Linked DNA regions of Homo sapiens: region 2 is linked to region 1. Evidence: promoter capture Hi-C in human tissues and cell types (Jung and others, 2019). All regions are on one chromosome and are shown on one strand. Each heading gives the region's core, a stretch centred on a gene start or on the middle of the fragment in contact. The rest is flanking DNA. Distances are from core to core; before and after follow the strand shown. Region 1 holds the start of OR4D2 (olfactory receptor family 4 subfamily D member 2). Region 2 overlaps AKAP1 (A-kinase anchoring protein 1).

The links. Contacts are between HindIII fragments. The study calls those that stand out against the background at their distance.
Region 2: a fragment that was not itself captured here is called in contact with the fragment with the promoter of OR4D2 in region 1 in 2 of the 25 tissues and cell types used here (dorsolateral prefrontal cortex and mesenchymal stem cells).

Annotation. Positions count from the first base shown.
Region 1 is chr17:58,164,187-58,169,678 of GRCh38, reverse strand. OR4D2 (olfactory receptor family 4 subfamily D member 2) reads right to left here and starts at 2,697. Exons shown (of 2, transcript NM_001004707.4): 1 at 2,626-2,697; 2 at 1-41. The coding sequence starts at 23. The HindIII fragment of the contact is 7,868 bases long and covers 1-5,492 here.
Region 2 is chr17:57,086,235-57,091,726 of GRCh38, reverse strand. All of the region lies in intron 1 of AKAP1 (A-kinase anchoring protein 1), which reads right to left. Among named protein-coding and RNA genes, the nearest start is that of AKAP1, 3.7 kb to the right of the region's middle. RefSeq lists enhancers at 1-315, 5,403-5,492 and a silencer at 5,435-5,492. The HindIII fragment of the contact is 3,932 bases long and covers 803-4,734 here.

The sequences.
Region 1 (5,492 bases), core at 1,448-3,947:
CACGTGAGGTTCCCTGTTTCCATGGTGTTTTCTCCATACACCTGAAGAAAATGAACCACAGACACAGATACATGAAGTCACTACTTTCCCTTTCAGGGCTCAGGGGCTCAGAACCAAGGTTTTAGGCCCATATGATGAGCATCCTTATGTGTAGACCATTATACTAGGTGCTGTCTTGTCTCTGGATCGTTTACAAGTGGGTGCTGGAATATACATTCCTGAAATCTTAACGCCATCCAGAAGTATATACAACCTGCCTTTCAAAGATTCATATAGTGGTGGGAAGACACTTGGAGTCAGATACATCTGAAGTCAAATTTCAGGTCTTTCATTTCATTGTGATTTGACCATGAGTAACTTACTTAATCTTTCTGGGCCTCAGTTTTCACGGGAATTTGTAAGGTAGAAATAAAAATACCTGCTTTGTAGAATTTTCTGAGGACTTAAGTAGAATGATAGATATAAAGTTCCTAAAACAGTGTATGGAATAATCAATGGCAATTACTCACCTGTGTGAATTCTCTTAATCTAAAGATATCCTCTCTTCCACTCTGTAATAAGATTCTTTGCCAATTATTTTTCACATGACATTTAATACATCATCGTGTTAATGGATTTTCCTTGTCTATATTTTCCCTCCACAATTCAACTATTAAGTCCAAAGCCTATATCTGGATCTCACAATTTATTTGTGCCCTGCAGTACCCATTCTTAATGACAGTTAACTTAAAAAGCTCTTGGTGTTGACTGCTGCATGGGTGAATAGCTATCAGGTGCACAAGTTCAGCACAAGGAAGACACTGGATGCAGCTGGATGCCTGAGACATCCAGTAGTTCCCCTGCCCTCCACTGTGGGCGGCCCCTTATGAGTGAGGCATATGTGGTGGTGCTGAGACAAGAGGGAGAAAAGGGAGGGAGAGTCATTGGATTGAGAAATAGATGATGAATATTGTATGAAGGGGACTCAGAGAGCTTCTGAATGAAACAGGAATTTTACAAGATGTTACTGAATCCAAGGGTGGGAGACAAAGGAAGTTGTTGAAAGAAAACAAATAGAAATAGACAAAGGAATAAAGGGAGATGAAGGAATAGAGCAAGTGAAGGTAAAGGAAGTGGAAAAGTGCTGGGGAGGTGGAGAAAACGGGACTAAAGGGACAGAAGAAGATGGAGGAGCCGGGAGAGGTGGCTCACGCCTGTAGTCCCAGAAATTTGGGAGGCGGAGGCGGATGGATCACTTGAAGTCAGAAGTTTGAGACCAGCCTGGCCAACATGGTGAAACTCCGGATCTGTACTAAAAATACAAAAAAATTAGCCGGGCGTGGTGGCACACACCTGTAATCTCAGCTACTTGGGAGGCTGAGGCAGGAGAATCGCTTGAAGCTGGTTGGAGGCTGCAGTGAGTGGAGGTCATGCCACTGCACTCCAGCCTGGGTGACAGAGCGAGACTCTGTCTCAAAAAATCAAAAACAAAAAAAAAAGAAGAAGAAGATGGAGGGTGACAGGGGAGGGGGTCAGTGGTCTCCCCCCTCCCCCTGCCCTGTCTCAATCTCTCTTACCCTCTCTTACCTGGCCTATTGCAATCTATTATCTACAATATTATAGGTCATTCTAATCTTATTCTGCTCCTTCAGTTTACTTCCACTCCAGGACACCTTCTTTTTTTTTTTTTTTTTTTTTTTGTGACGGAGTCTCGCTGTCGCCCAGGCTGGAGTGGCGCGATCTCGGCTCACTCACTGCAAGCTCCGCCTCCCGGGTTCACGCCATTCTTTTACCTCAGCCTCCCGCGTAGCTGGAACTACAGGCGCCCACCACCTCGCCCGGCTAATTTTTTTTGTAACACGGTTTCACTGTGTTAGCAGGATGGTCTCGATCTCCTGACCTCGTGATCCGCCCGCTTCCGCCTCCCAAAGTGCTGGGATTACAGGCATGAGCCACCGCGCCTGGCCTCACTCCAGGACACCTTCTACACAGCTGTCCATGAGACCCCTCTGACTCAGATGTGATCATATTCCTCATTGTTATAATATTTGATTTGCTCACAGCTTAAAACTCAAACTCTCAGAAGCCACCTAAAATGCTCTGTGGATAAACTGAGGGTGGAAAAACATACCTACATACGTGCATGCAACTCTCTCTCAGCATTTCATACAAGACTATAAAAAATAGCCTCCCTATACCTTTCTAATCAGTATCACTGTCACCTGGGAACTGATTGCTGTTCAAAGAACTCATAGCTTCCATGTAGGCAGTATATTTCATTATTTTCATATCTTTGGTAATAAATCCTGTTTCCTGAAATGCCTTTTGCTACCTTCTCAACCTAGAGGCGATAAGAGAAATATCACTTTCCCTTTGACTCCTCCCCCCATTTCTCTCATGCAGAATTAATTCCTTATTTCTCTGTGTTCCAATAGCATTTGATAAATACCTCCATTATAGCATTTATCATTTTTTCTATTGCTTCTCTTAACTAGATTGTAAATTCAATAACTTAGTAAGCCCAGAGTCTATGACAGCATCTCTGATTTAGCACTTGCTCAGAAATGTTTGCCAACTTAATATATTAGCAGGTAAATGTGACTTTGTTTTATGTGACAATGTCGAGAATCTTGTGATTTTCCTCACCGTTGATGTCCTTTGCTGTGAGCATCCTCCCTCTAAGTCTCATAGGGCGAATTCTGTGCTTTGTTGTTTTCCTATGTAATCGGAGGCATCCGTTTTCAACATCACATTCCCCTTGCAGTTTTTCTTGAGTCTCTGCTCATCCTTTAGACTTACTATCGTCAGGTCTATGTCACTTGCTTATTACTCCCACCCTCTAGCAGGTGTTGCAAGATCTTTCTTACAGCTGATCTCTGTGCAGCTGAGGAAACACTGGTCTCTCACCTCCCTTTAGCCCAGAATGGGGCTTCAGTGTACATCTTCTTGGAGATCCTTTGCTTCAGCCTCACAGTTTCTTAGCTCCTGCCCTTACTTCATGAATAATACCATGGGTGAGACCCCAGGGGAAGGGGGAATATCCTTTGGGAGAAACTATTGGACAGGGCTCAGGAAGCTGAGCTGGGCTGATTATCACTGGGGCCAAGGGAGCAATGGGAGTTGTTAAAAAGTTTCTAAATGTCTCAAAAGCACACACTCTTTGAGAGGTCTTCCTTGGGGGGCCCAAAGTACCAAGCACATTGAAAATTTTAGAGATTTGAGGAATGGGTAATATTCAGGCCAAGATCCAAAAGGACAAGAGGGTCTTCAAAAAAAAGGAGACTCTGAGAGTTTTAGGAGAATTTCTTTCTTAGACCAGTGACACCTACCCTTGAGAGAATTACCTGAAGGCCTTGTTAAAAGGCAGACTTCTGTTCCCAGCCCAGAATTTCTCATTCAGTACATCAATGGTAAGACCAAGAATTTGCATTTGTAGCAAGTTCTCAGATAATGCTGATGCACCTGTTCCAGGGACCAGACATTGAGAACCAACGACTTGCTCTTCAGCACAATGGATAGTTCTCTTTCATGGTGTTGTCAAGGTAACTGGTTTGATTTCTTCTCCTTTTAAACTGAATTGATCTTTACATAGGCAACGTCATGGATGGGAAAATGTCTGCATACTAAAATGAAAACTTAATTACCCCATAAATCTTGTTCTTCATCTTGTCAACCAATACCCCCACAGTTGATTCACTACCCATATCAATTATACTCACACCATCTACAAAGTGCTAGCATTATTTACATGTCAATTATTACTCCCTTTAATACAAGGATTGGCACAAGAAGCCCATATATTTTCTAATTATGAGGAACTGATTAAAAATTGGAATTAACCAACACTGTAAGCTTGATGTGCTGTAAAATCTGTGTGATTTCTCACAGCTCTCTGATCCACGTGAGGTTCTCAGGTTGGTCTGAGTTCTTTCATTGCGAATGTTTATACTTGGCAAAATAAAGACTCTGCCTCTGGGGATAAGAACACGAAGTGACGTTCTTTCACATACAAGAGATGTCAATTTAAAAAAAACACAAATTCTTCCCATTATTTGGAGCTTTAGTCTACTTTAAAATTGAGCCACTCAGGAAAGTAGTCTAGATTGATGGTGGGGATGGGCACAGGCCTTGTTAATGTTATTGACTCTCAGATGGGTGATTTTGAATTACCTGGATTAATTCTTTATGATTCCGATTTAGCTTTCAGTAATAGAGACCTGGTAGGTTCCAGTTTATATATTTCCCCTGTCAAAAGTACAGGTAGGTCGTAAAATGTCCATCAAAGCTCATCTTTACTGCAACCACTAGCCAGTATAATGGTTGCCAGTGTATGAATGGCCTGGATGGAGTAATTATGCTAAAGACTCAGTCATGGAAAATTGAGCTGAGAAAATTATTTCTATATGTATCACATTTCTAAGAAAATAAATGTTTGTCAGACTTAGCTACTATTATAATGTCAAGCCACTAAACGGATACAGGACACGTGTAGAGGAAATATCATGTAAATTCTCATGCAGGAAGCCCAGCATCATTGATAATTAATCATTCTCCCTTTGTGATGGTCTGTGTTATGTGTCAACTTGACTAGGCTATAGTTTCCAGTTATTCAATCAAACTCTAATCTAGGTGTTGCTGTGAAGGTATTTTGTAGATAAAATTGATGTCTATAATCAGTTGACTTTAAGTAAAGGAGGTTATCCTAGATCATCTGGGTGTGCCTGATTCAATCAGTTGAAAGAACTAAAGAGAAGAACTGAGGTTTCCCTGAAGGAGGAAAATTCTGCATGTAGACAGCAACTTCAGCTGATGGCCTGCCCTGCAGATTACGTACTTGCCTAGCCAGCTTCACAATCATGTAAGCCAAGTCCTTGCAATAAATACCTTTATCTCTCTCTCTCTCTCTCTCTCTCTCTCTCCTCTCTCTCTCTCTCAGAGAACATAGCCTCAGTAAGAGATGTCTTAAAGGCATAAATTCTCATAAATATAGCCATATTCATTTTAATGGGGGCATATTCAACAAATTCAATTAAGCACCTGGTGTTGTGGATTAACCATGTGTAAGATAAATCTGGAAGAAATTTTACTTATATTCCTTCCCTTTGTGTCAGTGTTGTAGATTATAAGCAGCTTTTCTGTGCTGTATATTACCTTTAGAACTGATATTCTGAATCATATAAAAGTAAGATTTTTATAAACTAAAAAGTGGCCCAAGACAACTTTTAAAAAATTAAATGAATAAATGACTTCTGGTTATAAGAAAACAAAGGTTTTTATTTTTCTCTTCCTCACTGGCAACAGAAATTCCACTTTCAATAAAATTAAGACATGTTTACAACTCAGATGACAACAAAACCCAAAATGAACCATGAAGGACTATCAAGTACTGTGAAGAGAGAGAGGCTTCTGCCCACAACAACTCCTGGACAATGCTGGCAGAGTTGGCTCCTAAGTAGGTGGTATATAATGAAGATAAAACAACCACCTTTGTGTGGATGGACCAGATCCGGGCA
Region 2 (5,492 bases), core at 1,519-4,018, 1.1 Mb after region 1:
ACAAAGCAAGACCTCATCTCTAAATAAATAAATAAATAAATAAATAATGTTTTTAATGGGGTTATGTGGTTTCCTGAAAAATTGCCTGCTGGGGCAACAAGGGGTCCTCACTCCCCAGGCAGCAGTCTGACACCTAGCTCCCCAGCTCCCCAGCTCCCCGGGCTGCCTCAGTCACATGCCTGCCTGCACCAGGAGGCAGGCTGGGCCCCTGCCACAGATCCAGAATAGAAAAGGCAGCCCTGGAGACCTCTTAAGCAGCCACCCCCTCCACACACCCCTTGGCAGCTTCCAGGGTGGCTTTATTCTCCTCTCTCTCCTGACGAGGCGGTGGCAGCAGAGACAGCAGCAGCTTTGGCACCAGGACCTGTCCCGTACACTGCAGCCACATGCACTTGGCCCTCCTAAAGGATGCCACCTGCTAAAAATAGCACCAGCACATGCTTGGCCAGGTGAGCCACACCAAAGCCAAAGGACAAAGCAGGGAGGTTATTTGCAGCACGGCCTTTTCTCCCAGAGACAGCTAAAGGCACAGCTGAGTGTGGGTCTCCCTCCAAGGCAGTTCAGGAAAGTGAGAATCACTCCTGCTCCTTTTTCTTGGGAGTGGCAGAAAGGAGGGGCAAGAAGGAGTGTACAGAAGACTGAACTGTCCTTCAGATCTGTCATCGACCCAACCTCACAAAGGCACATCCAGGCCCAGGCCAGAGAAGGGATGGGGGCTGGGGCTGTGCTTGAAAAGATCTTACTGCCTCCTCTAATCAGGAGGCCAGCTACTGCTGGGTGACAGCCTTTGGAGGGCCAGGAGATGGTCTGTGACCTCCAAGTGAGGTCTGACAGGTGTCGGGAAATTAGTGACTTCAGGATTGTCTTTTTCAATCAGCTCAGTCTTCAGAGCAGTTTCCCTGAGCCCTCAGGCACAGCTTTTTTTATTCATAGTCATTACTTGTGCATTTCAAAAGCACCCGATGGTTGCATAATTCTGATGATAAAATATGGCTTTGGAAAGACAAGAGAGTTAAGAGTAGGATCCTGTACTTCAGTTTCCCATAAAATGAAGATGTTCTGTAATAGGGAATATCTCCCTCACAGAGTTGTAACGAGGCTGAACACACTTAAGTCAGACTCCATATGTGGGATCAATGATTTTAATCTTTGTAAAACCCAGTTTAGTTTCCTGAATGAGGATGTGGTGATAAAGGGGCAGTAAATAAGCAACAACCAATGAGCATGGGGGGCGGCAGGGGCAGAGGAGGAGGTGGGGAGCACGCCCCAGCCCAGGTCCAAGCCAGTCCAGCCCTTGCTGTGTCCAGGGACCAGTTTACTCTACTCGGATCTTGTTTCTTCACCCACAAACTAATCACTGTACTAACCTCATAGGGCTGACAGAGAATAAAAATGACACAGAAAAAAAAAAGCCACTAATATGCCAGTAGGTGCTCATCAGTAAGTGTCCTTTATGCTGCCTGGCTCCAAGAAAAGAGATCTCACATTATATATACCAAAGGTCAATCTAGCAGGGTTCAAACAAAGCACACCCAGGACTAGAAGAGGGGGCATCTGGAAACAAAGAACTCCCCACCCCTGCCACAACAGAACACGTTAGCATCCACGCTGTGGCCCCACTCTCCCCCAACACCTTCTGTGAAGAATGGCCCCTAACATTTAGGTGGACTGGAAACAGCAGAATGAAAACACAACCTCGTTTAAGAGAAGGGCCGCACTGAGATCTGTAGGAAGTCATCAGGTGGGTGAAGGACCAAGTAACAATATGTTGACATCTGACATTTGGAGACCAAGGACAAACCAGCAGGGATCTTTATGATAATAAACGGCTTCAAACCAAAAGGGCTTTCTAAGGGCTTAGCATCTGGACCTTTGCTTCACGCTCCTGTCCCCAGGTCCTTTCTGAAGGTCCTCACTCAAACTGTTTCAAAACTGTTCGTCCACTCCCAACTGGCAGACTAGAACTCACTTGTAGTATGCCATGGAGACAACCAGTAGATAATTTGTCACCAAAGCTGTTGGGTTTATGGACTCTGGAAGACTAAGCTCAAACATGTTATGCTTTAGAGATTTACAAGTTGAGACAATTAAGCTTTTAGAGTTGGAGAAAAAAAAACTTTCTAGGCCGGCGCTGTCCAACAAAACTTTCTTCGATTATGGAAAATGTTCTTGACCTGTACTGACCAGGACGGCAGCCACTAGCTACACGAGGCCACTGAGAACCTGAAATGTGGCTAATGTCACTAAGAAATTTTTTTAAAAATACTTTGAAAAGTTTAATTAGTCACACAGCTAGCAGCTACCCTACAGACAAGGCAGCTCTAAACTCCCCACACCCAGGACAAATTTAGGCAAATAAAGCTATCTTTAAAAATAAAAAATATTTAGAACAGTAGCACACCTTAGAGCTAAGAACTTGAGATGAACAGTGAGTTGTTTTTTTTCCCCTTAAGTCTTTGACATGTACTACCCATTGAGCTGTGCTCCCCAGCCCAAACACATCACTCCAGTGGCCCCTGGGCACGTTTGGTCTAACTCCAAGGCTCCCAGGACCATAATCTGAATACTGATAATTTTGACCAAACCTCTTTTAGCCACTGAATAAACCAAGATCTGGAAGGCCAACCAGCCTGCCTAGAATCACCGCCAGGTTTCAGCTCTGAGAGCTGCAGCAAGTCCCAGGCTCTTGTCAGCTAAGCCCAGCAGTGAAACAAGCCTCATCAGCCCTAGGTTATACATATTTTTACTTCCAGGACTCACCTCAGGGCCCTTCTTTGCTCCCAAGTGCAACTGGGCCTTAGTGACACCTGGCTCGGTGAACACAACCAGCCACCATTACAGAACAGGGAACACAATGTTTACCACTGACTGCTGCAAACTATCAAACCAAGCCGGAAAAACAACCAGATGGTGAAGACCCGGACAGAATGTGGACAAGGCTGCACCATTTAGTAAAATGAAAAAGTTAAGGCAAAGGACACCTTGAAAGCTATTTATTGCTGGAAAGCTAGTTCTCAGAATGCTGAATGATAACACACACAATGTTAACAATCTACTTAGAAAGCAGCAGAAAGATTAGGAGAAAAGCCCAGGGATTTAAGAATATTCCTTGGTTCTTCTCACAAAAGCCATCCAGAGGACCTAGTTTTAACTCCACACCCACGCTTCCTAGTTCCTCTACCCCTCAATTTGAATTTGTGTGACAGCCACTGAAACAATCCAGAATGACCTCCAGCTTCACCCTCACTGTTCTCAGAGGTGTGAGGATTAAAGGATTAGTGTGCTCATAACTCACCTAGCACAGTAACTATCAAGAAAGAGGCATCCTCTCAAGTTTAGCTCCCAGCTCCCCCACTACCTGTTTCTCCAGCCAGACTCTGTCCTACTTCAAACATGCTCACTGATGATGTTTTCCACAGCCCAAGCTTCAAATTAGGTACCAAGGCCAGGAGGTTCCTTCAGTGGGATGCCACATGTGATGGGAACTTAATGTTAAATGATCATAAAAGTGAAAACTGCCTGAGGTATTACACCAGGAAGGAACATGGAAGAAACAGAACTTGCCCTAAGAAGCAAGATTTAGGACTAAAATACACCCCCCACCATAAAGATGAGCAACTCTCAAACAGTATATGAGATGATTTCAATGGGACAAGATGCCCACAGGATCTACTACCTCCCCATAGTGGAAGAAAACGCCTGAGAATGACAAGCTGAAGGTATTAACTCATACCTGAAACAACTGACTTCCCCACAATAGGAAAACAGACCAAGCTACAGAAAGGCCCAATCATTCAGACTCACAGGGAAGATTAGGAAGGAGTGACCTAGGGGAACTCTACGGCCAGCTCTCTGGGTACATTGGCTACAAGCTGCCTGCTCTTCAAAGCCCTGAAATGCACACACAATCAAGTCATGTTGCAGGCTGGGAGCAGGAGGCTAGCCAGCAAAGCTTAGGGAAACCAATTCGTTTTTCCTCCCAAACAAGCTTCTGGGTCAGAGGCTAAGGAGAGGGGTGCTTTTAATAGAATTCAAGTCACTCAAGTAATTCAAGAGAAACAAAGTCAGTCTCAGGGATTGTTCAGGGAGGAGAGGGGAAGAGCAATGCTTAAGCACCTATCACAGTCCCCAGTATCACAAATATGATCTCCATTTGTCTTTAGGACAGGAAAAGGGAATACTGTAGAGGCTAACACCAGCCTTCCCCTAAAATATGGCTGCAACCCAGCCTATGTCCAAAGCTCAAGAATAATTTGGGTTACCAGGCAGCAAGATAAATTGCTTTTAAATATTGATGTTCAGCAACCTTACACTGGAGACATATCGACTTCAGCACCTGAGCAGGCCACTTACAACAGACACCTCCACTGTCACCCTGCAGTGGCCAAGTGAGAATGCATTTCCTAGAAACAACTGGGAGATGGGAGAGATATTCCTACAAGGAACTAGACCTAGACACAAATCCATTAGACCTGTCTCACTCATTGGCTAGGATCTGTTACCTGCAAGTTCTGAGCCATCATCTGACAACATGCATGAAGACAGAGCCTATTAATCCAGTAATGGACTCAAGCTTTAGTGATTTGCATGCCTGTAGGATCCAGAGGACCTCCTCTAACCTAGGGCCATATTTCAAAGAGAATACACCCAAGAATTATGCAGAACCTACAAAACTAGTTAGAGGTTAAAGAAAAGTTCAACACAAGTCAAAAGGTTCCCAAAACATAACTTCACTTGCTTCCAGTGCTCAGGGTCTTAAATAATCAGCAGGTGAACCACTTCAATGCCAAGATCAGAGGAATTATATAAATGATCAAGTCAGGCAGCCTTCTTCATTTCAAAGATGTTCTGTACCTTTAAGAGCAAAGTGGATGGGTGGTGCTAAGAGTCCAAGCTTTGCTTTCTAAATAAAGAGTTAAAAAAAAAAAAGGTACTAATTTGGGAAGGACTTAGCAGTTACAAGAGCTTGTAAGGCTACTAGTTGCCAGAATTAATAGCTTTTTGTGAACGGTGTTCCTTGATCAGTAACTAACAGATACTGTTGCACCAGGTCCAGCAGCCTAGATTTCACTGGAGACAAATCTAAACACGAAGTAACGCGCACTACAGTAGGGGAAAGATACCCAGGTTAACCTCACTAATTGCCCTGCGCATACACCCTACCCAGCTTGAGAGGCCTCGACTCGCACCTGGAGCGAAGTCCACCGGGTTTGTGTTAACGGCGGCAGGAAGGCGCCGCCACCCAGGACATCCCCCAGGAGAGGAAGATCCCGAAACGCCCAGGGCTCCCATGCCGTTCCGAGTCGCCACAGCACCGCCTACCACGATCAGCACCTTTCTTCTCCTATCCCTCCCTGGAAGGGAAACAGGAAGACCTTCAGCTAGGGCACAAAAGAGTTGAACGCCAGAAAGCCCGCGTTCGAGGCATCCAGCCACTGCCTCTCCTAGCACATCGTAACCCCAAAACTGGCGCGGTCCCTCCAGATCGCAGA